5 separate regions of the Homo sapiens genome follow, and all the other regions are linked to region 1. The links are contacts of gene promoters, found by promoter capture Hi-C in human tissues and cell types (Jung and others, 2019). All regions are on one chromosome and are shown on one strand. Each heading gives the region's core, a stretch centred on a gene start or on the middle of the fragment in contact. The rest is flanking DNA. Distances are from core to core; before and after follow the strand shown. Region 1 holds the start of CHST11 (carbohydrate sulfotransferase 11). Region 2 overlaps SLC41A2 (solute carrier family 41 member 2). Region 3 overlaps SLC41A2 (solute carrier family 41 member 2). Region 4 overlaps SLC41A2 (solute carrier family 41 member 2). Region 5 overlaps CHST11 (carbohydrate sulfotransferase 11).

The links. Contacts are between HindIII fragments. The study calls those that stand out against the background at their distance.
Region 2: a fragment that was not itself captured here is called in contact with the fragment with the promoter of CHST11 in region 1 in 3 of the 25 tissues and cell types used here (H1 embryonic stem cells, aorta and spleen).
Region 3: a contact is called between a fragment that was not itself captured here and the fragment with the promoter of CHST11 in region 1, in 1 of the 25 tissues and cell types used here (aorta).
Region 4: a contact is called between a fragment that was not itself captured here and the fragment with the promoter of CHST11 in region 1, in 6 of the 25 tissues and cell types used here (H1 embryonic stem cells, IMR-90 fibroblasts, dorsolateral prefrontal cortex and 3 more).
Region 5: a fragment that was not itself captured here is called in contact with the fragment with the promoter of CHST11 in region 1 in 4 of the 25 tissues and cell types used here (IMR-90 fibroblasts, liver, neural progenitor cells and 1 more).

What each region holds. Positions count from the first base shown.
Region 1 is chr12:104,454,514-104,459,710 of GRCh38, forward strand. It overlaps CHST11 (carbohydrate sulfotransferase 11), which reads left to right and starts at 2,435. Exons shown (of 3, transcript NM_018413.6): 1 at 2,435-3,016. The coding sequence starts at 2,899. RefSeq lists enhancers at 2,104-2,153, 2,174-2,253, 3,174-3,223 and silencers at 2,324-2,453, 2,534-2,703, 2,744-3,023, 3,614-3,753, 3,914-3,973. The HindIII fragment of the contact is 13,105 bases long and covers 1-3,146 here.
Region 2 is chr12:104,902,732-104,907,928 of GRCh38, forward strand. All of the region lies in intron 3 of SLC41A2 (solute carrier family 41 member 2), which reads right to left. Among named protein-coding and RNA genes, the nearest start is that of SLC41A2, 53 kb to the right of the region's middle. The HindIII fragment of the contact is 5,831 bases long and covers 121-5,197 here.
Region 3 is chr12:104,856,455-104,861,651 of GRCh38, forward strand. It overlaps SLC41A2 (solute carrier family 41 member 2), which reads right to left. Exons shown (of 11, transcript NM_001352171.3): 8 at 4,837-4,916. Among named protein-coding and RNA genes, the nearest start is that of SLC41A2, 99 kb to the right of the region's middle. The HindIII fragment of the contact is 5,592 bases long and covers 380-5,197 here.
Region 4 is chr12:104,830,647-104,835,843 of GRCh38, forward strand. The region is part of intron 10 of SLC41A2 (solute carrier family 41 member 2); the gene reads right to left. Among named protein-coding and RNA genes, the nearest start is that of SLC41A2, 130 kb to the right of the region's middle. The HindIII fragment of the contact is 4,985 bases long and covers 1-4,943 here.
Region 5 is chr12:104,731,995-104,737,191 of GRCh38, forward strand. All of the region lies in intron 2 of CHST11 (carbohydrate sulfotransferase 11), which reads left to right. Among named protein-coding and RNA genes, the nearest start is that of MIR3922, 140 kb to the left of the region's middle. The HindIII fragment of the contact is 7,646 bases long and covers 1-5,197 here.

The DNA.
Region 1 (5,197 bases), core at 1,185-3,684:
ATCTGCAGAATCTTTCAGGGCAAAAGGGAATTTAGAAAGATGAGGGAGAAAGGATCTGAAGACTGATCCGTTCCTCTTTCAATGTTCAAAGTATAAAATTTTTCTCCTCAGTTTTATCAGTTAATACTGTCCTTTACTTGGCTAATATTTATTATATAGCATAAGATGTAACAAAATTTTCTTAGGCTAGGAATGGAAAGAAAGCAATGATTCTAACTGTAGTTGGGCAGTTTAGAGTGTGATGAAGGAGAAAACAGAATTTTTTCATCACCCCTCAATGTGCATAGAACAACAGAATCACAGACCATTACCACTGACCTTTGTCATAGATTTTAGAGGTGATCTAATCTAACTTCCTAGTCCAAGTAGGCATTACCTCTCTGCCTCTGACTTATTTGTACCTACTATGTACCAGTCATTGTGCTGGGCATTAGAAAGAGACAGAGATGAAGACAACTTGGATCTCCAGGAAGGAGTTCAGCCTAGTGGGTACAGTGGCCCAAAAGAGGTTTGGACCTAGTGCTCACAGCGCAGAGGAGGAAAGTTGCAATTTCAGGTGAGAAAACAGCAAAGACTTCTTGGGAGAGGTGGTAGCTTATGTGTCACAGCCTTAATCCTCACTGTGTTTGGGCAGGTTCCTGATTGTGGGAATGCAAGAATGGATGTTGGGCATGATTCACCATCCTCCCCCACCATGTGGGCCAACTCCATGATCTCTGTGACTCACAGGGAATTGGACTTCTGATCTCTTCCTTGACCCTGTGACTTCCCAAACTGCCTTGTGCATGTCCAGGCTTTGGGGCAGGTAACTGAAGTCTTTGGCCTATGAGGTGAGAGGTCACTTGGGTGACCTGGGAGTAAATCCCTTCCCCTCCCTGGCTCTGTAAAGCCAAGTGTTAAATGAGAGACTTATATTCCAGGCAAAGGCTTTGTGCAAATGCCCATCTAAGCCATGCCCTCTGCAAGGAATCCCCTTTCTTAGTGATGATGGTGGGGAGGTGGGGAGGGTGCAGTGCAACTCCCATTCCTGATCTCCTATCACCAGAGCAGAAGAATCACTGGAGAACGACTCTGTCTGAAGCTTGTTCAGCCTGGCTTCCTTGAGCAAGCAACTTATTCACAGGTAAGTCCAAATTAATACAGCGCACACCGGCTACATAAATATTGTGCTTTGATTGTCTTCTGTAATCAAAGGCAAGGCTGCTGAGTTTGTTACTTTCCCCACCATGCAACTGCTGGAGGAGAACTCTGGGGGAAGGGAACTGAGGTTGCCCAGGTGGTTTTTGTTGCATGTGTCTAACTGCAAGTTGTGTCTCTGTCTATCGAGGGGAGGATAAGGCCCATTACATTCAGATTCAATAAGAATTTATCAAATGCCTATTTTGTGAGAGGCATTGAAAGACACAGTATCTTATTTCATTTTTAATTGAATTAGTAATGACTTGATAAGGCACAAAGGTTAGTCTAACTAACATTTTTTTTTTCCCTGACATACGAGTGATCCCTACACTATTGGCTGTGTCCACTTTATTGATTGTGAAACAGCCTAAATGCATGGAATTGGAAACTGGAAGTCATTCTACACAATACAAGAAAGCAGCACCATCTTTCCATGTACCTGCCAGTGCTATGGCTGGCTTGGCTTTTCCAGCAGTTTTCTGGACTTGGTTGAGGTGGCTTCCTAGGGGCATTTTCTCACCCCCTCCCAGCTAAGACTGCTGTTAATTTTGAATAATTTGGAGGATGCTCTACCCTTTGGGGTAGCAGAGTTTTGCAACCCACAGATCCCTTTTGCCTTGAGGAATGGTGGTGATGGTGGGTGTCAGAGATTCTGTCTGTATAAGTCCCCGGGAAAGCTCAGCTGTCGCCTGACCCGAGGGTCGTGCAGTTTCCTTAACCCTGACTTTAAGTCAGCCCTCTTTAACCCCGACTCCCAAGCTGGGCTGTCCTTTGAAAGAAAAACGAAACCGCCCAGTTCTGAGCGTCGGAAAATGGGCACTCGCTCCCTGGGGGTTTGGGGCAACTTCCCCGCTACGTCGCCCAGGGATTTTAAATAATTGCCAGCCACCAGAAACCCCCTAACCCTTAATTCTTCCCTCCGAGACCCAGCCCGCTGCTTGCCACTTCCCTCTCCAAACGCTGGCGGGGGTGGGTGGCAGCACCGAGGCGATTTTCTTCGTCTTTTTTTCCTCCGGGTTTTGTCATGGAAACGCTGACACAACCTCCAGACGGCGGCCGAGCCCGGCCGGGGACTGAGGGCTTTTGGGACCCTGCGGGAGCGCGGCGCGCACACCGCACTCCCCGGGCAACAGCTGGACGCGACCATATCCCGGGTAGGGGCGGGGGGAGCGCGACGCTCCGCCCCGGCGCTAGGGTCCCTCCCTCCTCCCGGCTCTCCGCAGGCGCCCTCCCCTCGCCGGGGGCCGCGAGTTGCATTTGGTAAAACCCAGCCCCGGAATATATAGATCGTTGGAGCGCAATGAAGTAGCCTTTGGAGAGAAGGGAGAGGGCCCGTCGGACAGCCACAGCGGCCAGCGCAGCGGCAGCGGCGGCGGCACCACCATCACCGCTCGCACCCCAGCCGCCCGGCCCGCGACCAGGCAGCGGCGGCCGCCGGCGGGATCGGAGGAGGCGGCGGAGCGGCGAGGAGGAGGAGCAGGAGCGCGCAGCCAGCGGGTCCACGCATCTCAGCACTTCCAGACCAACTCCGGCACCTTCCACACCCCTGCCCGGGCTGGGGGCTCCGAGAGCGGCCGCGAAGCGACTCCGATCCTCCCTCTGAGCCTTGCTCAGCTCTGCCCCGCGCCTCCCGGGCTCCGGTCCGCGCGGCGGGGTCCCTGCTCCTGCGCCCCGGGCGCGCTTCCCGGACACCCCGGTCCCCGCAGCCAGGACAAAGCCATGAAGCCAGCGCTGCTGGAAGTGATGAGGATGAACAGAATCTGCCGGATGGTGCTGGCCACTTGCTTGGGATCCTTTATCCTGGTCATCTTCTATTTCCAAAGTATGTTGCACCCAGGTAGGGGGCGCGTTAGCGTGGTTTTGTTGGATATTTTCTTCTCTCTCGCGCTCTAGCTCGCTCCGCCTGATTTCTGCCTCTTCCAACCCTACCTCTCCGCCTTCGGCCTCTTCGGGGCTCCTGGCTGCCCAGAGCTCCTGGCTGCCCAGATCTACCCGGGTCACCGCGTCGGGATGGGGAGGAGAAGGGAAGGTGTGCTTCGCCCTCTTCTTCCTACCGGCTCCGGGCTGGAGGATGGGACCAGGAGGGGCGGTAGTTTTTTTTTTTTTTTTTTTCTTCTTCTTTTTTTCTTTGTGTCCCTTGTCTGTCTGTCTGCGAGGTAGCAGGGAAACGGAGAGGTGTGGGAAGCAACCGGGGGTGAGGGGCTGGTTTGAGGAGAACGAAACTCCCTCCCTGCTGCTGCCGAGGTCGGAGGATGAAAGAGTTACCCGGAGCCGGCTGCTCTGCGCCCGGGCGAGCCGCCTCTTCCTGGTTGCCGGGCCGGGGGCGAAGGGTGTACGCCCCGGCGAGGTTGCGAGTCCCTGCAGCAGGCTGGGAGCCCGGGACTGGGCTCCCACGTGTCCCGGGCTCCGCGCAGAGCTGAGCAGGTGTGGAGAGTGGTCGGGTGCCCAGCGTTGCCCCTCCACCACGCGCCGGCCGTTTGCCCCCGGGGTCCGGCTCCGCAGTGACCTTGCGGCTGGTGCCCCGGGGCCTGCTCCAGCCCCCAGCCCTGAGCTGGAAACTCCGAGCTCCTGGGTCACGCCTTGACCACTGCAGTTTTGGAGGAAACTTTGGCCAGGTCCTGGGCTGACCGTCCGTTTGCATCCCCCACTTCTGGGATCCGAGCAACGGGAATCCCCCGGGCGGCGTGGGAATGAACCCCATTCCTCCGGTCCCTTGTGGCTCAGGCAAAGTTCCACGTCCGAAATCTGGACTGGGGGAGGGACGAGGCTCGTCGCTTCCTAGGGGTGCGAGGGAAAGTTTGGGTTCTGGAGAGGGAGGGGCGCCCTCGAGCGCGGCGGCCGGGGGTGAGCAGCTCGGCTGCGAAGCCCAACAGGTAGAACGTTCCGAGAAGCCTTCCGGGTAACGCGGGTCTCCCCGCCAAGCCGTGGCTCCCCTGCTCCCTTTTACCCTCCCTTAGCAGCCCCCTGCCGGGCCACGTTGGCTCAGAAATCCATTTTCTACGCCTCCGAGTTGCCTTTCTCAGCGTAGTCACAGCAATAATTTGCTTTTCTAATTGCAAGGAGGAGGGAGGTGGAAACGCATTTCCTTCCAGGGAAGTGGGGTTGGTGTTTTTCATTTTTGCCTCCCGCCTTCTCCTTTCACTGTGTATCTAACACTTTAAACAGACGCAGTCCCGAATTCATCAAGCCTGCGTTTGGGTCGATGGCAGAGGAATAAAGCTGTTCTTTCCATCAAACAGGCAGGGCTGCAGGCTGCAGATTCCTTGACAGCGCAGGGACAGACGGCCCCTTTGCCCCACTCGGTCTGGAGCAGTTGTTAAGGCAGCCACACTGCCAAGGATATGGTCCGACTCTACCACATGTAACCTCAGGACGTCCGAGCCAGCCCTGTTAAAGATGGCTTTTGTTTGCAGCTGGGTATTTTTAGTTTAATGTCAGCAAACTACAGCGGTGTTTGTCTCCTCACCCAAACCTGCGGTTGTGAAACTTATAAAGGAATTTAAAAATGGACCTGGCTTGCATTCCGGCAGGCAGGCCTTGGTTGCAGTGGGCAGGGCCAGACAGCCAGGGGTATCTCAGAGTGCCAAGCTCCAGGGCCCACCGGAGACCGGGCCAGACTCACCCCAGAGCGCCAGGGGACTGGTGGTGTACAGATACACTCGGGTTCAAACAGTTTAAACAAGGGGCCGGTGATTTGGTCTAGACTCTAGAGCTGTGTTCAGGTTTCGCTGGGACCGTGAATGCCAGTAATGCTCTGTACGAATGCCCAGAACACGGATGAGTGTCAGCCTTCAGCAGGAATGCGCTTGAGCTTCTGTGTACCTGTTAATTGCCCAGGGAAATACAATTGTCATGGAATTCTTTGTGAGAATTGGGAAATAACTTTCTAGCCAAAGATACTAGAAAGAAACTTCCAACTTGTAATTGTCACTTTGTGAAAATTTCCAGCCCTTGTTAGTCTTAAGTTGACTTGAAAGTGACATCATATCTTTTCAGCCTAGCCTTTTGGAAGAGGCAG
Region 2 (5,197 bases), core at 1,786-4,285, 450 kb after region 1:
GGCTATAAAGTTTTCAACTAGAAAATAATCAGTGAAGAGTCCAGAGAAGATGAGGCTTTCAGATTTTGCCATCAAGAAGTCATTAACTTAGAGTTTCTTAACAGCCCGTAGAGTATCAGAACTGAAATAAACCCAAAACTTCTCTAGCATTCTGTAAGAACTATAGTTTTCTACCCAGCAAACTTGAGATCTAGTTCTCTAAGCAATAAAAATGCCGTAAACTAGAAGAATATACCATGTTATCATAACTTGGCACTACAAGTTGCTACTTTCCCATCTACTAATTTGCTTGCTTTTACTCCTCTCAGATCCAGAAAGAATTTTTAGTGATGGCTCCTAGTGTTTAATTTCAGTTAATCCATCAATCAATTCTGTTGATTCTCTCTGAAAATTAATTCTGGACTCCAACCACCTCTCACTGCATTCCCTGTTACCATCTTGAATATTATCTCTAAGCTATTATTGCAACAGACTCCCTGCTTCAATCCTTAGCCCCCTATACCCATATCTCAATGCAGTAGTCAAAATAATCTGTTAAAAAATATCTATCAGATCACATTAACTCCTCTGTTTAAAACCTTCCATTGGTTTCTTATCTCACAAACTAGGCAAATCCGTACATAATCTGGCCTCTGGCTCATCCCCTAAAATTGTCCCCCCTCACTCACTCGGTCCCAGCCCTATTGGCCTCCATGCTCTTTATCTAACACAGTGGTTTTCAAACTTCAATGTGTATCAGAATCATCTGGAGAGTGTGTTAAAATTTAGATTGCTGAGCCACACCACTGGAGTTTCTAATTTAGTAGTTTTGGAGTGGGGCTGAGAATTTGTATTTCTAACAAGTTGCTGATGCTGCTGATCAGAAGAGCACACTTTGAGAACTACTGATCTAACATACCAACAACAGTCCTGCCTCTGGCCCTTTGCATTGCCTAGGGCATTCCTATCACAAATGGCCTCAACACTTCTTATTTACGTTTTCTTATTTCCTTATAATGTTTTCTTATTTCCTTGACTGAACTATCTTCTTATCAGTAGCACAGCTCTCAACCAATGGAAGCTGGCAGCTCTACCCCTACCTCTCTAAAGAAATACTAAGTTAGATCACCCTGCAGCAGAGTAGAGACCACAGATGGCAAGCTTCTCCCCTGTGCTGGGCTTGTAATCAGCTCCTGAGACTCCTTCTCTTAAATATGGACACATACATATAACCAGACATTTGAGAAAAATACCTAGTGTAAAATATAGACACCACAACAAATTAACGAAGGTTAAAAAAAGATTAAATTCACCTTCATTCAGGTTTAACGGTAGTATGTGATCAAATTAAACAGCAAATATCATTTGCAGCATTTTGTTTTTTAACCAGATTCCCTACAGCATGGCCTATTTCAAAACAGACTGGTGTTTTAAATCTATTATTATTCTGGATAATGCTCAAGAACAATACTTTTGAAATATTTTCTTTGAGATAAGCTAGCCAAAACTTCACTTTTCCTGCCAAAGTTATCAAGTTGCTTAAATTCTTGTATGCTTAACTATGTTTATCAGAGCAAAGTTCAATTTCCAACAAATGAAACTAAAGGCACCTTTTAACTCCCATTCAAATAACTTTCTTCTTCAAATGTTGCCACTTTTGTTTCTCAAGGCCTCTTCATTCTCTTCTCCCGCCAAAAAGCCTCTCGGATTGAGTTCTATCTACCTAGGTAATTCACCAGTTCTTATAACATAATACAAGTAGGAAAAGATGAAACACATGCATATAATTTCACTAATTCTCAAAATCTCAGTAAGACTGTGTCTGGAATTGGTGGGTTCTTGGTCTCACTGACTTCAAGAATGAAGCCGCGGACCCTCGCAGTGAGTGTTACAGCTCTTAAAGTGGCGCGTCTGGAGTCTGTCCCTTCTGATGTTCAGATGTGTTCGGAGTTTCTTCCTTCTGGTGGGTTCGTGGTCTCGCTGGCTCAGGAGTGAAGCTGCAGACCTTCGCGATGAGTGTTAACAGCTCTTAAGGCATCGCGTCTGGAGTTGTTCGTTCCTCCTGGTGGGCTCGTGGTCTCGCTGGGCTCAGGAGTGAAGCTGCAGATCTTCGCGGTGAGTGTTACAGCTCATAAAAGCAGCGTGGACCCAAAGAGTGAGCAGTAGCAAGATTTATTGCAAAGAACAAAAGACCAAAGCTTCCACACTGTGGAAGGGGACCCAAGCGGGTTACCAATGCTGGCTCGGGTAGCCTGCTTTTATTCTCTTATCTGGCCCCACCCACAACCTGCTGATTGGTAGAGCCGAGTGGCCTGTTTTGTCAGGGCACTGATTGGTGCGTTTACAATCCCTGAGCTAGATACAAAGGTTCTCCACGTCCCCATCAGATTAGTTAGATACAGAGTTTCCACACACAGGTTCTCCAAGGCCCCACCAGAGCAGCTAGATACAGAGTGTCGATTGGTGCACTCACAAACCTTGAGCTAAACACAGGGTGCTGATTGGTGTGTTTACAAACCTTGAGCTAGATACAGAATGCCAATTGGTGTATTTACAATCCTTGAGCTAGACATAAAGGTTCTCCACGTCCTCACCAGAGCAGCTAGATACGGAGTGTCGATTGGTGCACTCCCAAACCTTGAGCTAAACACAGGGTGCTGATTGGTGTATTTACAATCCCTGAGCTAGATATAAAGACTCTCCACGTCCCCACCAGACTCAGGAGCCCAGCTGGCTTCACCTAGTGGATCCCGCACCGGGGCTGCAGGTGGAGCTGCCTGCCAGTCCTGCACCCTGTGCTCGCATTCCTCAGCCCTTGGATGGTCGATGGGACTGGGCGCCGTGGAGCAGGGGGTGGCGCTCATCGGGGAGGCTCGGGCCGCACAGGAGCCCATGGAGTGGGTGGGAGGCTCAGGCATGGCAGGCTGCAGGTCCTGAGCCCTGCCCCGTGGGAAGGCAGCTAAGGCCCGGCGAGAAATCGAGCGCAGCGCCGGTGGGCCAGCATTGCTGGGGGACTCAGTACACCCTCCGCAGCCACTGGCCCGGGTGCTAAGTCCCCCATTGCCCGGGGACAGCAGGGCTGGCTGGCTGCTCCGAGTGCGGGGCCCACCAAGCCCACGCCCACCCGGAACTCCAGCTGGCCCGCAAGCGCCGCACACAGCCCCGGTTCCCGCTCGTGCCTCTCCCTCCACATCTCCCTGCAAGCTGAGGGAGTGGGCTCCGGCCTTGGCCAGCCCAGAAAGGGGCTCCCACAGTGCAGTGGGGGGACTGAAGGGCTCCTCTAATGCCACCAAAGTGGGAGCCCAGGCAGGGGAGGTGCCGAGAGCAAGCGAGGGCTCTGAGGACTGCCAGCACGCTGTCACCTCTCAAGACTACATAAAAGTTTTTTTGTTTTTTCTTCTTAAAGATAAAAGCTAGAGATATACTTGACACACATTGCAGCTGTATGCCAAATGGTCAAGTGTTGAAATCAACATTCAGCTGACACCAAATGTCACCATTATATAAGGAAATACTGGGATACAGGAACCAATATAAATCTTAGACTATATGCTCCAGATACCTGAGACCAAGGTATCTCAAGTTAGTGTTCCTGAAGGCAGACCATGCCACCATTAGGTGCCAATGAACCCCAGGAACGCCAAGGGGTGGGTGTTTGTTGGAGGTGTAGATGGAGCTTGGACATGGGGCCTGGTGTATGTGTGAGGTCTTTCAAAATGCAGTACCTATTACCAAAGGTGGGAAGGGAATTGGGGCAGGCCTCAGACCAGGGGGTGGCTCAGTGGCTCTCTCTACAACACCATGTTCCAAAACAGAACCCAAGAAGTCCAAAAATTCTAAATCTGATCTTGGACTTCCAGGTATTCCTAAGGATATATTTGTCAAGGTACACAGAAAGAGAAAATATTTAAGTGTGTAAGTTTGTTGTATAATTTTAAACTATGTAGACATATGTTATATAGGTCTCCATTTGTATTGCTACCCCAAGCCTAGCTGTTAAATGCTTAAAAAGCATTTAAAATGCTTTTAACGACGAACGCATTTAACATGCTTAAAAAGCATGTTAAAAGCCCAGCTGTCTAGAATGCTTATAAATATTTGACATTGTTACATTTATTAAATACAATAGTAACCTGGATTGATTTTTCCTCAGATTCCGATATGGCTGACTCACCTTTACTACTCAGGTTCCAGCTTACATATACCTCCTCAGAGAAGTCTTTCCTGACCACGTTGTGTAAAATAGCCCTCAGGAATCATCCATCATCACATTATCCTGTTTGATTTTCTTTACTTCCCTTACCGATATCCAAATTTATGCAAATTCCATCACAGCAGAGACCTTGCCTGCCTTGTTATTCATGTATAGACTAATGGATTCTTATTTTTTTCCATGGGTTATATATAATCTGTAACTGTCATTATCTATTGTATGGCTCCAATTTTCCAAGATCTGGCCAGTATGTCACTCGTTATCCTTTTGTCATGTCCCCATCTTTTTTTTTTTTTTTTCATTTTTAGCACTTCTTTACTTTCTGGCACCACAAGATATTCGAGATTCATTGTATACTTTTCTGCTTCAGCCCAAGGAGCTCCTATTATTTTTTCAGTCCTTTTAATGTTCAATAATTACAATGGCTACATACTATAGACTAAAGTGAATTTACTAAAGTAATTCTACTCCATGAGTTTGGCTCTACCTAAGTGGCTGACTGATACCCCCAAACATCATCTATAGTTTACCAACTAACTACATGGAAAAGCATTATATCTGTAAATAATAATGTTTGAAATAACATTTAAATATTTTAAATATTAAGTACCAAAAGTATTGGTGCTAAGACCAAGACCTTAGCAGATCATTCTTACAAAGTACATGGGGAAGCTATTAGGTTTTTGTTACTGCTGTTATTTATTGGTTTTATAAATTCTGACAGAGTTACCCTGTGCAGGTAAAAGGAACATTCTGGAATGTGACTTATTCCACTATATGTAGAGCTGTGTGCCCTCAGGAAAGTTACTCAACTGCTCTAAGCCTCAATTCCTACTCTGCAAAGCAGGATAATAGTGCTTATTCCATAGGGTTGGTATAAGATATCACTGGAAAGCAGTTAGCAAAGGACCTGGCATATAATAAGAGCTCACTAATACCAGATATTTCATTATTGTCCTCTGCAGATATAGCTATATGACCTTTTATATACTATATAAGGAAGGA
Region 3 (5,197 bases), core at 1,926-4,425, 400 kb after region 1:
AAAATACAGACTACACTTGGGAAAGTTTGATTGTAGAGAGTAGAAGAGACAGAACAGAAGCTTGAGAAGGCAGAGCACTATGGGAAAGGTGACTTGGGATAAAAAACTTGTGCACATTTGTAAGCTAAAGGGAAAAGATGTAAGAGAGGAAGACATGGGAGATACCGGAAAAGTTAAAATAATTGATGGAGTAAGGCTCCCATTGGAATTGTAATGGAATAGTATCCAGGGCACAGGTCAACTAGTCAGTCCTGGGCAAAAGAATCAGCTCTTCTGAGATAGGGGTGAAAGAAGTTAAAAATAGACATTGTTAGAGATACGAACAGAGGTGAAGGGAAAGGAAAGAGCACGCTGGGAGAGACATGCCTAAAGACTCTATTTTCTCTGTAAGCCTGCCCTACAACAAACATTAAAGGAATTTCTCCAGGCAGAAGGAAAATAATACCAGATAAAAACCTGGATCTACACAAAGGAAAGAGTGCTGGAAATATAACTTTATATGATAAAATCTAAAAGATATATTTTTCATTTTTAGTCTCTTTTTAAAAATAACTGAAGCAAAAAATAATAACAATATATTACAGGATTTACTATTTCAAAAAAGTAAAACGTATTTCAAAAAAGAGTACATAAGTAAAACGTATTTCAAAAAAGAGTACATAAGAAAGAGGAGTGGTATTTCAAGTATAGTGACATAAGCTTCTTATCCTATATGTAAAGTGGTTTACTATTGTTTGAAAGTAGACTGTGATAAAAAAGATATAAGCTCTAAATCAATGGTTCTCAAAGTGTGGTCTAGGGGGTCTGAGGAAGGTTAGATCTAGAAATCCCAACACCTAGCTAACAGAAGTACCAGAAAGAGAGACTCACGTTTATGTTAGCATGATAAAGGCTTTAAGAAATCCCGTAGTAGGATGTGGAGAAATAGGAACATGTTTACACTGCTGGTGGGACTGTAAACTAGTTCAACCATTGTGGAAGACAGTGTGGCAATTCCTCAAGGATCTAGAACTAGAAATACCATTTGACCCAGCCATCCCATTACTGGGTATACACCCAAAGGATTATAAATCATGCTGCTATAAAGACACATGCACATGTATGTTTATTGAGGCACTATTCACAATAGCAAAGACTTGGAACCAACCCAAATTTGTCCATCAATGATAGACTGAATTAAGAAAATGTGGCACATATACACCATGGAATACTATGCAGCCATAAAAAAGGATGAGTTCATGTCCTTTGTAGGGACATGGATGAAGCTGGAAACCATCATTCTCAGCAAACTATCGCAAGGACAGAAAACCAAACACCGCATGTTCTCACTCATAGGAATTGAACAATGAGAACACTTGGACACAGGAAGGGGAACATCACACACCGAGGCCTGTTGTGGGGTGGGGGGAGGGGGGAGGGATAGCATTAGAAAATATACCTAATGTAAATGACGAGTTAATGGGTGCAGCACACCAATATGGCGCATGTATACATATGTAACAAACCTGCACGTTGTGCACATGTACCCTAGAACTTAAAGTATAATAAAAAGAAAATAAAAAAATAAAGAAGAATTAACACCAACAACAATAAAGAAATCTCGTAGTAAGCAAGTTTGTTTAACTTAATGTTTAACAAATTTGATTGACCACAGAACTCACTTTTCAAGTTATACTTATTAACATCTCACAGAACTAGTGTTACCATGAAATATATTTTGGAAAATGCCACTAGTTCTGAAAGACATTAATAAATATTAAAAAATATCCTAGTCACAATATGAACACAGATATGCCTTAAACAATGTATGCATTCTTGTAGCTAATAAAACATAAATTAGTAGCTGCATATTTTGAGAAAAAAAAAATCACAGGCTTTAGAATAGACCCGATCTGGTTTTCAATCGTGACTCACCACTTACAAGATAAGAGACCTTAGACAATCTACTGATCTTATTGTGAGGATTATACGACACAACATGTATAAAAAAAACCTGTAAGTTACCTGGTACATAGTGGTAGGTACTCACTAAATAGCAGATAATGATGATAATGATGAAGATAAACAAGAGTCCTTTAAATAGTACATTCCCCAACACATTTTAAATGAAATTCAATTCTCAAAAGTTCCATCTTATTTGAGGAGCATAGAGTAAACCATCTCTATTAATGTTTTTTAAAGAGTGGAATTTATAAGCTCATAGTGTACCACCATGCCCGGCTAATTTTTATAATTTTTGTGCAGACAGGGTTTGGTCGTGTTGCCCAGGCTGGTCTCAAACTTATGAGCTCAAGCGATCCACCTGCCTTGGCCTCCCAAAGTGCTGATAGCCAACTAAGAGGTTTACTTACTGAGATACTAAAAATATATTACTATGAATATCACACAATGCCACAGCACAGACATCCAAGGAGAGCATTTCAGTGAAGCTCTAGAATTGTTTCTTACTTAAGGTAAAACAACTGAAATATGCATTAAAGCCTTATAATAAAAGGGTTATTGTAATTTAAGTTAAATTTCTTACTGAAATGTTGTTTAATATAGCTCTAACAGTCATTATGAGTAATGTTTATGCTAATGAACTCATCCATTAATATTCACAGAAGAGGATCTGAAGAGGAGGGAGGAAAGCAGTAGTTATTCCAGGCAGTGAAAATTAGATGAATCTTTGTAGGGACAATATAAAAACCTAGTTAGAATGATAATGAAAAAATTGCGCATGTCTTTGGGAAACAATGAGTCCAACCATGTACAGAGGGCCTTGAAAGCTAGGCAGAAGAATTCAAATTTGATCTGATAGGCAGGGAAAAAAACCACTGTTAAATTCATCATCTTAGGACCCATGTAATAAAAACAATGTTTAAGAATGACTAGGCTATTAGTGACACTTAATTTGCCTCAAATAGAGAGTGAGTCAGGAAGCCTACTTTATTACTTGAATGATGGCTATATTGAGACATTAGGCTACAAGAGTAAGACATGCTTGTTATATAAATAAATGATTGAGCAAGTGAACTGTGTTAAAGGGCAAGCAGACAATGGCTTGGTCATTTTTCAGTCAAAGAGGATGAAGGACCAGGTTGAAATAGATGGTCCCACAATTTTATGTGTGGGTGACGGGGAGAATGGTGGCATGAAGAGAGAGACCTATAGGGAAAATTTGTTCATTGATATTCTAAAGTGATATAAAAATTAAAATATTCAGTAGAAATTTTAGACATGAAATTAGATTTTGAAGAACTTGCCTTTATATGTCATATATATTTTTTACATATATACATATATACATTTTTTTTGAGACAAGGTCTTGCTCTGTTGCCCAGGCTGGAGTGCAGTAGCGTGATCTTGGCTCACTGCAACCTCTGCCTCCCTCCCAGGCTCAGAAGGTCCTCTTGCTTCAGCCTCCCAAGTAGCTGGGACTACAGGCGTGTACCACCATGCCTGTAAAAATATAATTTTTATATTTTTTGTGCAGGCAGGGTTTGGTCATATTGCCCAGGCTGGTCTCAAACTCATGAGCTTGAACGATCCACTTGCCTTGGCCTCGCAAAGTACTGGGATTACAGGGATGAGCCACCGTGCCCAACTGACATATTTTCTTTTTACATAGATATGCAAAGTAAATTACATTAAATATGTAGTATATCCTGGGACATGTTTTTCCCCAAGTAGAATTACTTTTTAAATTATATTGATCTAGGCTGTACTTAAAATCTACTTTAGTGTTCAACAATGAGAACACATGGACACAGGGAGAACATCACACACCAGGGCCTGTCAGGTGGGGGGCAAGGGGAGGGAGAGCATTAGGACAAATAACTCATGCATGCGGGGCTTAAAAACTAGATGATGGGTTGATAGGTGCAGCAAACCACCATGGCAAATGTATACCTATGTAACAAACCTGCACGTTCTGCACATGTATCCCAGAACTTAAACTAAAAAAAAAAAAAAAAATCCACTTTAATGACAGTCACCCCAGAAGCCGGTAGACTGGATTAAAATGATCTTATTAAATGTAATTCATATATAAATGTCTGTGAATTTAAGTATTATAATTCCCATTTCATAGATAACAAAAAAATATACGACAGATTTTTAAAGGGATCAGCTGAGGACCAATAGATTTTTTTCTTTTATTTTTTTTTAAGACAGGGTCTCACTCTGTTTCCCAGGCTAGCATGCAGTGGCTTATTGTAGCCTCTAACTCCTGGGCTCAGGCAATCCTCCTGCCTCAGCCTCCTGAGGACATACCTGGGACTACAGGTGTGTGCCACCACATCTGGCTAATTTTTGAATTTTTTATAGAGATGGGGGTCTCACTATGTTGCCCTGGCCTCAAACCCCTAACCTCAAGCGACCCTCCTACCTAGGCCTCCCAAAGCACTGGGATTGCAGTCATGAGCCACTGTGCCCACCCCAGATTTTAATGAACTGAATGGATAAGCAATGTTGAAACCCAGCTGTCTCTAATTTATCCACAAAAATTGACAAAAGAAACAACAAAACAATATACAATAGCTGATAATCCCAATGTAAATAATAAACAAAATCTGAAATATATTTTGCCACATTAATCTTAAGTCAGGTATACCTGACTCTCAAACTAGTAGTTCATGATAAGATTAAGAAAGATTACTTTTCAGAAATGTATTCTGCCTGTTGAGACCTGGGAATGTAATTTTCACTGTGAGCAACAACTTGGGGTTGGAGGCAGAATGGTTGGGATGGGAGGACAGACCTCTTGAATCTGAGCCCTAAGACTTCTAATAGTACCTAAGACTAAGAGGATACGAAGATTTGATATTATCATGAAACAGTATATCTAATTCTTACCATTAATAACTGGCGTGTAAACAACAATCCCAACCAAGTTTGGGTCTGATACAGTTGTGTCCAGAATAAGGCCCCCAATGCTGAAAGAGATAAAATTATATAATTTAGAGAAGAGGGAAGAGAACATACTTGAAGTTATTCTGTACATACAGACACCCCTCCTTTTTAAAATAAAATATTCACACATTTTAAAAATAGAGCAAAAATAAAAATATTCAAAGTAAAAATCAATGTCAACAGTAAAATGTTGAAAATAAAACACGGCATAAGCTCTAGCCCCAAATTTCAGAATTCTGATGTCTAAGATATGCTACTTGTGAAAAGAAAAAGCATACGCTTTAAATGCATTAAAATGTCTTGA
Region 4 (5,197 bases), core at 1,201-3,700, 380 kb after region 1:
AAGGATTAATGAGATAATGTAAATAAAATACATATTGTCTAGCAGTTAACAAACACTTAATATTTCTTCATATTCTCCTTCTAAATAAAGTATTTAAAAACAAGGGCTTGTCAAATGGGGGAAAAAATGAGCCTGATCACCTACCCATTAGTTTTCAAATTAGAAGGCACAAGCTATTTCCTACATTATATTAGTTCTTATGCTGGCAGAAGTTAGTTATCAAACTTCATTTACTTTTAAAAAACCTTTTATGCCTATCTTTGTACTTACATAATCATACAATATGTAGTTTGTGTCTGGCTTCTTTTGATTAACCTTATGTTCATGAGATTTACTATATTGTTGTATAGAGTTGTAGATCATTCATTATCCCTGATGTATATAGTATAATAGTACTTCACTATGAAGCTTTACTTTCTTTTCTTTTCATTTTCATTTTTAAGAGATGGGGTATCACTATGTTGACCAGGGTGGTCTTGAACTCCTGAACTCAAGCAATCTGTCTGCCTCAGCCTCCTAAAATGCTGAGATTACAGGCATGAGCCACCACACTCAGCCTATTTACTTTCGATCATAAAATTAAAATCTCTTTCTCTCTCTCTCTCTCTGTAGAGACTGGGTCTCCCCATGTCTTAAAAATAAAATGTCTTAAACTCCAAGCCTCAGGCGATTCTCCCACCTCAGTCTCCAAAAATGTTGGGATTACAGGCATGAGCCACCATGACCTGCCAAACGTAAAGTTTAACATTCTAAACTGGCCATGATGTTAAAATACCCACAGTCATGCTCCAAATAATGACATTTCTGTTAACAATGGACCACATAGATGATGGTGGTTCTGTAAGATTATAATACCATATTTTTACTGCACTGTTTCTAAGTTTAGATATTGTATCCCCATTGTTAAGCAACATATCACTGTAGTTGTTCATAGAATATTTTATTACACTTGTTGAGAATGTAATTTTACATTTAAAAAATATACCTTCAAATTGTTTATGGGTGTATGTTTAATCTCTCCAACTGATATGTTACCTCTTTCAGATAGAGAACCTTGTCAGGTGCTTCCCTATTACCCATACAAAATACACTCAATATATCTAATTTAATGAATACTTATTTATATCTAACATAGAAAACAGTGTGATGAGATTCCTGAAGCATTCAAAGAATAAGACATAGTTATTGCTTTCAATGGGATATCAGAATCGAAATGAAGAAACATAACTGAAATGCCTAAAATAATTCACAAATAATAAAAAACAATATTCATTTTATAAATATTTACTGTGCCAGGCAGAGGGTTGGGTGCTGAAACTTCAGTGATGAATAAAACAGAATCCCTGCATGAGCCTGAACTGGCCACATCCTCTGCTATCCTCTGGAAAAATGAAAGAGACTTTGGCAGAGCTAAAAAGTAACAACTCATCAGAGAACATAAACTGAGGTTCTTCAGCATACCTTCAGAAGCAGATGATCCATGGGAATTGACTATTAACCCAAGATTCTCAGAACAAAGAGTTGACTACACAAAGCAGACAGATTCCACCCATGACCATTAGAACAAACTTTTTCTATGTCACACTCTCCTTTCCATTCCTGTCTTTACGGATTATCTCTCTTGTACAATTCCTGGCTCTTTCTTCCTATGTAGGAATTAGTTTCTTTAATGCCAATCCAGGAAAAGATTAATTGTTATGCAGAGTTATTAAGCCAATTCAAGGATATGACTCCCCAGTACCCTTGGATGGATTATGTCTCATTAGAGTCCTTTCTGGGAAAACAATAACTAGTGGAACAAATGCCTAAAAATATCAACCCCATCAACAGGACAGTCAATTGGACAATTTGAACTGACAATTCAAAATTGTCCATGAAGATTTACCTCTCACTTTGGCTGATACAGTAAATAACACAGTCCAAGCCCTGGGGGAACAATTTAATTTCCTTAACTCAAATAGTTATAGTTAACTGTTATAGCTATAGATAATACAATGGTGTTGTATTTTCTCTTGGCCAACCTAAACCATTGCTAACACTTCACGCTATACCTGAACTAACATTACAGATGAAATGAAGCAACTTATATCTAAGCTAAAAAGAAAAAAAAAAGGCAGTCAAGCTACCTAGAGAAACATACAGACTTGTTTTCTTGGTCAGGCCTCAAAAATCTTATGTCTTGGTACTGAAGTGCCTTCTTGTCCCTTCTTAAAATATTTCTTGTTATTCTTGTTTGTCTTACAGTCACTTAATGCTTATTGTCCGGTCTCAAATGCTTTTGCACAGCTATTGTCCCAGCAGATGGTTCAACAAATGATTCAAAGATAAAAAGAATATGAAATCATGCTGATTGACACTTAAACTGAAAAGAGTTCTCTACACTGAAATCTCATCTTTAGGGAGAATCAACAACAGAGTTGAATGTCTGGATAATTCTTAATTATTTCTCCTGAGTGAAGAGCAAAAGTGAGAACTAAGAATAAATAAGTTTCTACACTCATTGGAAAAGACTGATTGTTCTTTAGCCACAGTAACGAGTAGCCACCACAACTGGTTTTAAATTCATTCAATCAATAAACTTGCCTCATTGAACATGCTTTAGAAGCTAGCCAATCAATGATAGTCCTTGTTCCTGAAGTAGCCAATTAGGAACTAATCAATTCCATTAAATGTATCCCTAGGGGCCAACCAAACAATGGTCATACCCAAGTAATCATACTTCTACAGATGACATTAGTCCAAATATGCTTTTGAACATTTGCCAGTTCCTGAAGCCATGCTTCTCTAAAACCCTACAGAAGATCAATAGTTGGCTCTGCTTGTGCCTGATCCCAGTATAACTCCATTACAATAGTAAGTAAAAATTCAGCTTTGTCTTTTTATTTCAGTTACTGAGTGACGGTCTCACCATCCTTTGATACCCTTTAAGCTTCCCTTTTAATAAATGCAAAAATCTTTGGAAACTTTTTGCTTTAATACATTTCCCTAGATAGTACAAAAATATAATTTAATTACCTTTGTTACACTGAACTAATACAAATGTTTAGCTTTCAAATTAAAAAGTGGTATTGTGCTAATATCTATTCTTAAAAATAGCTAAACATTTTCAATTATAGAATCATTCAGGTCAGTGTTTTGTTGTTTTTTTTTTGTGGGGGGTGAATATTCTAGGGTCACAAATCAACCTAGATTTTATTCTGGCAAATTTCCTGAGTAATTATTTTTACACTTTTCAATTATGTGGTTTCACTCAGTTATAAGATTTTTTTTGTAGATGATGTGAAAATTCCTCTAAATCATATCTGCAATGTCAGCAGGATTCAGAGCACAGGAAGCAATGTCCTAAGCAGAATACTTGAGAAAAGATGGTTGAGCTTCCCTGGTTCTACCTTCACCTTTATCAGGCTTTACAAGACCGAAAAGAGCTCTTTCCCAATGCCTCACCTCACAGGAATCAAGCATGCTGTGCCTCCAATAAAGCAGACAGTCATTTCATCTTCTGTGCATCACTGGCCTGGAGCCCAAGCATACCTATCTAAAGAATTAACCATAAATATGGATTTAGAAAGGTGTCTCAATTTGAGACCTTACAACCTAAGCTATAATAGCATAATCACACATAACAAAAATGCAATCACGAGGCTGTTAAAAAATAATCTCAAAAATTCACCTGCTTTAACTTCCTATCTTAAGGTAAGCATATTGATCAACTCCAAAAGTTAAAGGAGCTGTTTTTACAGCTAGAAAAAAAATTCTAGGAACTATAGGCCCTCCCTTCATATCTCCTTTATCATTCTCTTTATACTTCTCCTTCAACCCAAGCTGACAGACAGAGAAACCAATTAAGAGACAGAGGCAGAACAGTCACATAGACAAAATAAAGAGCTCCTACTTTCAGTTAGAATCTGGTAGAATTAAATCCTGAGGAGTGAGAAGAAATATGAAGATTAAGTAACCTGTTTAAATCTCCTGGTTGCTTAGGTTTTTCCTTTGAGATGCCATCTGGGAACAGGGTTTGAGTTAGCATCATGATTTAAAAAAAAAAAAAGACATAACTACATCATTTAATGAGGGCCTACTATGTGTCAAGTATTTAAATATTATAACTGCTGTGCAAAAAGGAAGCCTTATCATTTTATATGCAAAGAAAATAAGACTCCAAGGAATAAAGTAACTTGCCTGAGGCCAAGCTAATTAACTTGCTCAGCTACTGGGTAGTTATCCTGGGATTCCAATTATAGTCATGTTGTTACCATATGGCTACATTCTTCCTTATCTAGAAAAGTGACTCCAAGGAATGGAGTAAGGTATCAGAATCAAGGTAGAGACTCTTAATGCTGGTTTCATAGGTTCTGATTGCTCCACTGCCACCCTAAGAGAGTCACTGTCCCAGTAATCCATAGCTATTGATGATGATGATGTTGATATTAAAAAATAAGACAATAATGATGAAAATAATAGCACCTTAAATGCATCATTTCATCCTTATAACAACCCACAAGGTTGGTCTAGTCTTAGCCCCTTTATACAGGTGGGAAACAGTGCCTGAGCAGTGACTGCCTAGCTGATGCAGGTATTTGATGGTGGAAGCCAGAGCCCAAGCCCTATAAATTATCTCACACTGCATCAGAGGAATGTGTCAGATCTCTCAAGTTTGTTGGGAGTGGAAAATAGTTGAAAATCACCACTCTATAGAATAAACTAAACTCTTTATCATCTGTTCTTTAAGCTCCTTGATGATCTTGCTACAACCTATAATTTCTAACCTTATTTTTCATCACTCCTTTTAACTCCAGGAAATTTCTGGCTGTTTTCCATAAATACCCTGAGTTTTTCTCATTTGCCTAATGCTACTCCTTTTAGCTGAAACGGCATTTTCTATGGATTCCAACAAAGCAAATTGTTATCCACTATAAAACTTCCTCCCCACATAGAAAAACCTCTCCCACTATTGAACTTCCATAGCAGTTTGTCCTTCTCTCAGAACATTCAGGAGATATTTATGTGCTTGGAATGGATTCCTACTTGACTTCAGTAGGCATTGATTCGGTATGGATCCTGTGGAATGAATATCCTTCTGGGGCAATATGCCTGGCTGGAAGAAGTTGAAGATCTAATGAAACCACAGAGAAGAGGCAGCTGTAAATCTTTAGAAGTTGCCATCCTAAAAACTATGATCCTCACTAAGAGCAAAACA
Region 5 (5,197 bases), core at 920-3,419, 280 kb after region 1:
AGAAAGTCCACCCCAACATCCTCCCCTCTGTCCTAGGGCAGGAGAAACTGCAACCAGCTCCACAGCTATGCTCGGTCCCTCCAGGGAAGAGGATTGCGCTGCTGGTGGTCAGTTTTATTTGGGTACACCTCAGCATCAGTGGCTCAGAAGCAGGAGGTGGCAGGTTATGGCCATGCCCTGTGGTGGCTGGGCCCCCTGGGGTTCGTGAGCTTTGCTGGCATGGACCTGGCTGTGCCAGGAGCCTGTCCTTCTGTTCGCCTATGTGCCATAAGCCAGACCCCAGCAAGGCTTCTCCCAAAGACGTGGGTGCCTCAGAAAGATGAAAGCAGTGATCCCTATTTCCCTAAGGGCCTCCCCAGCCTTTGACAGGGTCCTGGCAGAAAAGCTAGACTCAGTGGCTGGTTTTCGTAAGTTTTGACCCCAGGGACATTTATAGATGGCCTGAAAACTAAATCAATGGATTTTACTTACTTTTTAAAAATTCACCTTTCATCACATTAGAAATAGACCTTCTTGCCCTATCTCTGAGTCTCCTCACGTCTCTTCTCCCTTCCCCAACCCACCCTCTAAGGGTCTAAGGGTGAAGTAACAGGCGGGAGTGCCTGTCATGCACAGCACTAGGTAATAAAACACCTTTTGGGGCTTAGCCACCAAATGTCCCTCCTGTCCAAGTGTCCATATCCAAACCTGAGCTCAGTCAGGTATCCGATTGGTGTTGCTGTCACCGGGGCATTTGCCACACCCAGGTGCTCACATCATCTATTGATACCCCCAGTCTCCAGATTCTTTTTGGCATCCTCCTCCCCAGCTTCCTAATCACTGATGAGACCAGATGGCAAAACAAATGGGGACTGATTTTGCAGTGACATCGGAATTGGAAGCTTTCTTTCTGGAACTAAGTATTAAGTATTTTTTTTAAGCACTTATTTCCTTACATGTAGTTCACAAAGAGGGCGTCAGCCCTGTGCTTTGAACTTGACATGCATCGTCTCACTTAATCTTTGCTCCACACCCTTGTGTAGTAGGTATGACCAGCCCTATGAGAGATGGGGAAACTGAGGCCCAGACCAGTGAGGTGATGTGTGCAAGGTCACGCACTGGGATTCCACCCATGCACCTTGTCTCCAGGGTGTGTCCTCTTCCCACAATGCTGTTCTGCCACCGGGTTCTTTAACTGGAAGATGATGTAGATAAGACATATCTTGAATGTAGCTGTGGAGGGCATGAGGCCAGACTGTTTTTGCTAGATGCAAAATCTGGAGTCTAGCTTTCCAGATCCCACAGGGAAAAGACCTCAGAGTAGATCCAAGATTTCCCCATGGCATGGAAGAAAGAGGAAAGGGGACATTTATAAGGCCTTTGTGGGAGGCAGTAACACTGACTGTGGGTATCAGGAAAGGGCCTTGCCTGATTCTGGGGGCACCTTTAAACCCAGCAAGTTCCCCCGTGTTCAACCCTCCCTCCCAGGGCTGCATGATGGAACCCTTGAACCAGGATCAGTTGTTGGGAGTCGCAGCCAACACTTTGACACACACTGTGTTTCAGGCAGTCTTCTGAATGCTTTGCATATTCTGTGAGGTTGGTACTTCCATTAGGTGGGTGCAAAAGTAATTGTAGTTCTTGTCATCAAAAGTAATGGTAAAACTGCAATTACTTTTGCGCCAACCTAATACTATCCCTACCTTATAGATAAGGAAGTTAAGGCACAGAGAGGTGAAGTAACTTGCCTAAGATCACACATCATTAAGTAGGTGGCAGAACCAGATTCAACCCAGGGAGATTGGTTGGCTGCACTGATCTTATCTATACTGCCTCTGAGGAGGGGAACCCTGCTTTTGACGTTGTAAGGTAGGAGGAGTTGGGTGATGGGTCTGGTTTCTTTGAAAAGCCAGCGGGGGGCGCTTTGAGCCTTCTGATGATGCCATGATGGCTGCCATGCCCCCATGGCCCAGCCCTGGCAAAAGTGTGTGCCTGTGGGGGCTGCCCAGGAATGTGGGCTTATGCCTCCTCCCCGCCACCACCAGCAATCTCTGTAGCTTTTGGCTGGGCACTGCTCCTCCAAAGAAGGCAGCAGGGCTTCCCCTGCCAGGAGGGCCAGCTTCCGCCAGCAGAGCTGCTTATTGAGAGGTACCTGGTCAGCACTGGCGCCAGAGGGGCACAGGGAGGTGTTTGCTCAGGCCCAGCCCATGCTTCTCTGCAGAAGTGGACGTGCTTTTCTGTTTATTTTTCTTATTTAAAAATTTTAAATCCAACTATCTTGAAATAGTTGGAGGTACAGAGCTGCTTGAGGAAAATTCAGCCCCAAAATTCATCAGAAAGATGGTTGGCCTCAGGATCACAGGGGCACGATCCCTCCTGAAGGACCAGCAGTTCCGGGCCCTGTGTAGGCACAAGATGAATGTCATTCATTTAAATCTCACCCCGGGCCCGTTGTATAGTTGCAGAAACTGGGGCTCAGAGAGGTCAGCTTGCCCAAGGCTGTGCTGCTAACAAGGGCAGGGCTGGACCTTAAGATCCGGACCCAAATGCCTGCTGTTTCTCCCGCCCCTAGTTCTGAATACGGTCACAGGTGGAAAACGGGGTGGCCTGTGATATTCCAGTCCCATGTTTCTTACTTTGCCATGGGGAGGAATGAGGACCTGGGGTTATTGCCCTGTAGTTCATTCCACCCTTCACCCCATGGGATACCCAGTCAGCCACCAACAGCCTTTCCTGGTAGGCACTCAGGGAAGTGCCCCAGGGTGAGGAGGATTTGTGAGAACTGGCGCTCTGCCTCCTGGGAGCTTTATGGCAAAGTAACAGCAAGAGAACACAGACAAAAGACAGATAATATGGAGATCCAGAGGAGGAGGGTTTGGGATGCTTAGACAAGGGTGGGGCCTGCGTTTATCTGATAAATAACACAGTGATTCTGTATCATCATCGTGTTGTTTACGTGAACCCTGCCAGGCACCACATGCCCTCATCAGGGCAAACTGCAAAATTGCCAGGTTTGCTTCTGTTCTGCAAACATTTTTTGAGCTCCTGCTCTGGGGGCAGGCATGGTGCTCAACACAGGGGATTCCAGGATGAGCAAGGCAACAGTCCTGAACTTCAGGGAGCAGAGGTAGGGATCTATGGGTAAACAGACAGTTACAGTATGTTGTGAGAAGAGAGTAAGCTCCAGAGTCCAGTTACCTGGGTTCAAATCCTGGCTGCACCACCGGCTAGCTTTGTGACTTAAATGACCACCTCTCTGGGTTTCAGTTGCCTCATCTATAAAATGGAAATATAATACGTCTCTACCTTGTAGGAGTGATAGAAGGACTAAATGTGATTACACAAGAGCTTAGGACGATGCTTGGCACCTGGCACTCAAAATATATTAGCTCTTCTGGTGGTGCTGGTGGCTGTGCTGTGAATGATAACAGCAATAATGGTAAAAATAATAATACCACGTTCTATAAGAGAGATGAGCCTAGATCACTGGCGGAGCACCAGGAAAAGGGGATACCTGACTGATCCAAGCCTGGTGGTGGGGCTGGGTCATCCGAGACATCATCTTAGAGGAAGTGAGGAATATGGTGAGGTCTGAAAGCCCCACAGTTAGCGGGAAGAAGAGAGTGAGCAAATCCAGAGAGACTTGGGGGCAGGGGACTTGCTCCTGGGCAGGTCCCTTAGGTGCAAGAAAGCGCAGTACTTCTAGAGAAATCACAGGGGTCCAGTGCCCTGCATGGGACAGGGCTGCTGAGAGACAGAGCCTGAGGGGCTGGCAGGGGCCAGGATGCAGATGCTGGGTGCCAGGCTCAGGCATCTGCGCTTTCCATGGAAGGCAGTGGGGACTCGTCATGGGTTTAAAGCACAAGGACAGCAGAGTTAGAGCTGTGATCAGAGCCTCTGTTTTGGTCTGGAGGGGACCCAGGCTTGGAGCCCAGAAACTAGGGGATTGTCAGCAGCAGTCGAGGCTCAAGGGGATGTGGTTTGTACCAGGGTTGCCAGGATGCGGGGTTGTGGCCAGGCTGTGGGGAGTGGGTGCCTAGGTACCTGGCAGGGAACCTGGGCAGACAGCAGTGCCATTCCCTGAGATGGGACACAGGAAGAGGGCAGTGACCACTCTCAGACATTCCAAGTTGGAGGTTCCTGTGGGACATTCCATGGGCAATGTCCAACGGGAAGGTGAGAGCATGCTTCTCGCCTCTGGTATAAATCCTCCCTTCCCCAAAGTTCCCCCTGCAAGATACCATCCCTGTGCCTACAGAATCTGGGGAAAGAACATTCCATGGAGAAGGAACAGGACATTCACTGCCCTGCGTGTGGCATGTTCAGTGGAAGGAAAGGAAAGGAAGAAGAGAGAGAGAAGAGAAGAGAGAAGGAAGGTTGGGGAGGGCCATTTTGTAGAGGGTGATGATAAGAAAAAGACCAGTGACTCACAAGCTCATACAGAGAATGCCCAGCCTGGCCGAGCTGGAGATTTACCCAGAGGCATCCAGCAGAGTCCCATGTATTTCCAGATGTTTCTGGTTAGAAGTTCGTATAACTTTCAGAGAAAATGCCCTGCCCTCCTGGATTCTGGCCCAGTTTGAAGAGCACCCCAGGCTGACTGAGCGTAGCAAAGCCTCAGAGAGGCAGTGGTGGGCTGTTGGGCTGGGACCCACTGCACGTACAACTCGGGAAGCCCACCTGGCCCTCTGTGAGTCTGGCCTGTGAACTCTGATTTACCCGGAGTTGGCAGGGTTGGGGGTCTTAGAGTAGCCCTTTGAGAAGCTGGTTCAGTTCTGAACTCCATCCAGGTGTCCATGAAAGAGACTGCTTCGAGTCCCTTTCAGTCCCCCACACAGCGCTGTAGGTGTACTAGAAGTCATGTATAAACTGCCCTGAAAATCTGATTTTTGAAAGCATAGGAGAAATGCATCCTTCTGCTGCATAAAGCATCTTCATTGTGAGTCTTGATAGAAACCAAGTGTGGCTTCAGGGCTTAAGAAGGCCAAACCTCACCCTGTGACTTACACAACTGAGACCAGGAGTATCTATGAGAATAAAATGTGACTTTCCTTTAACACCATTTATAGATGATCTTTATGGGATATTCTGCCTCAGCAATTAGCTATGGGAATTTTAAAACTCCATAACAACTTTAAGGAAAGGAAGTTAATCAGAACTTCCCGACTAAGAACTGAGTTCAATAATCATTGCCCAAGGGGCTTCCCTGTACCCAGAA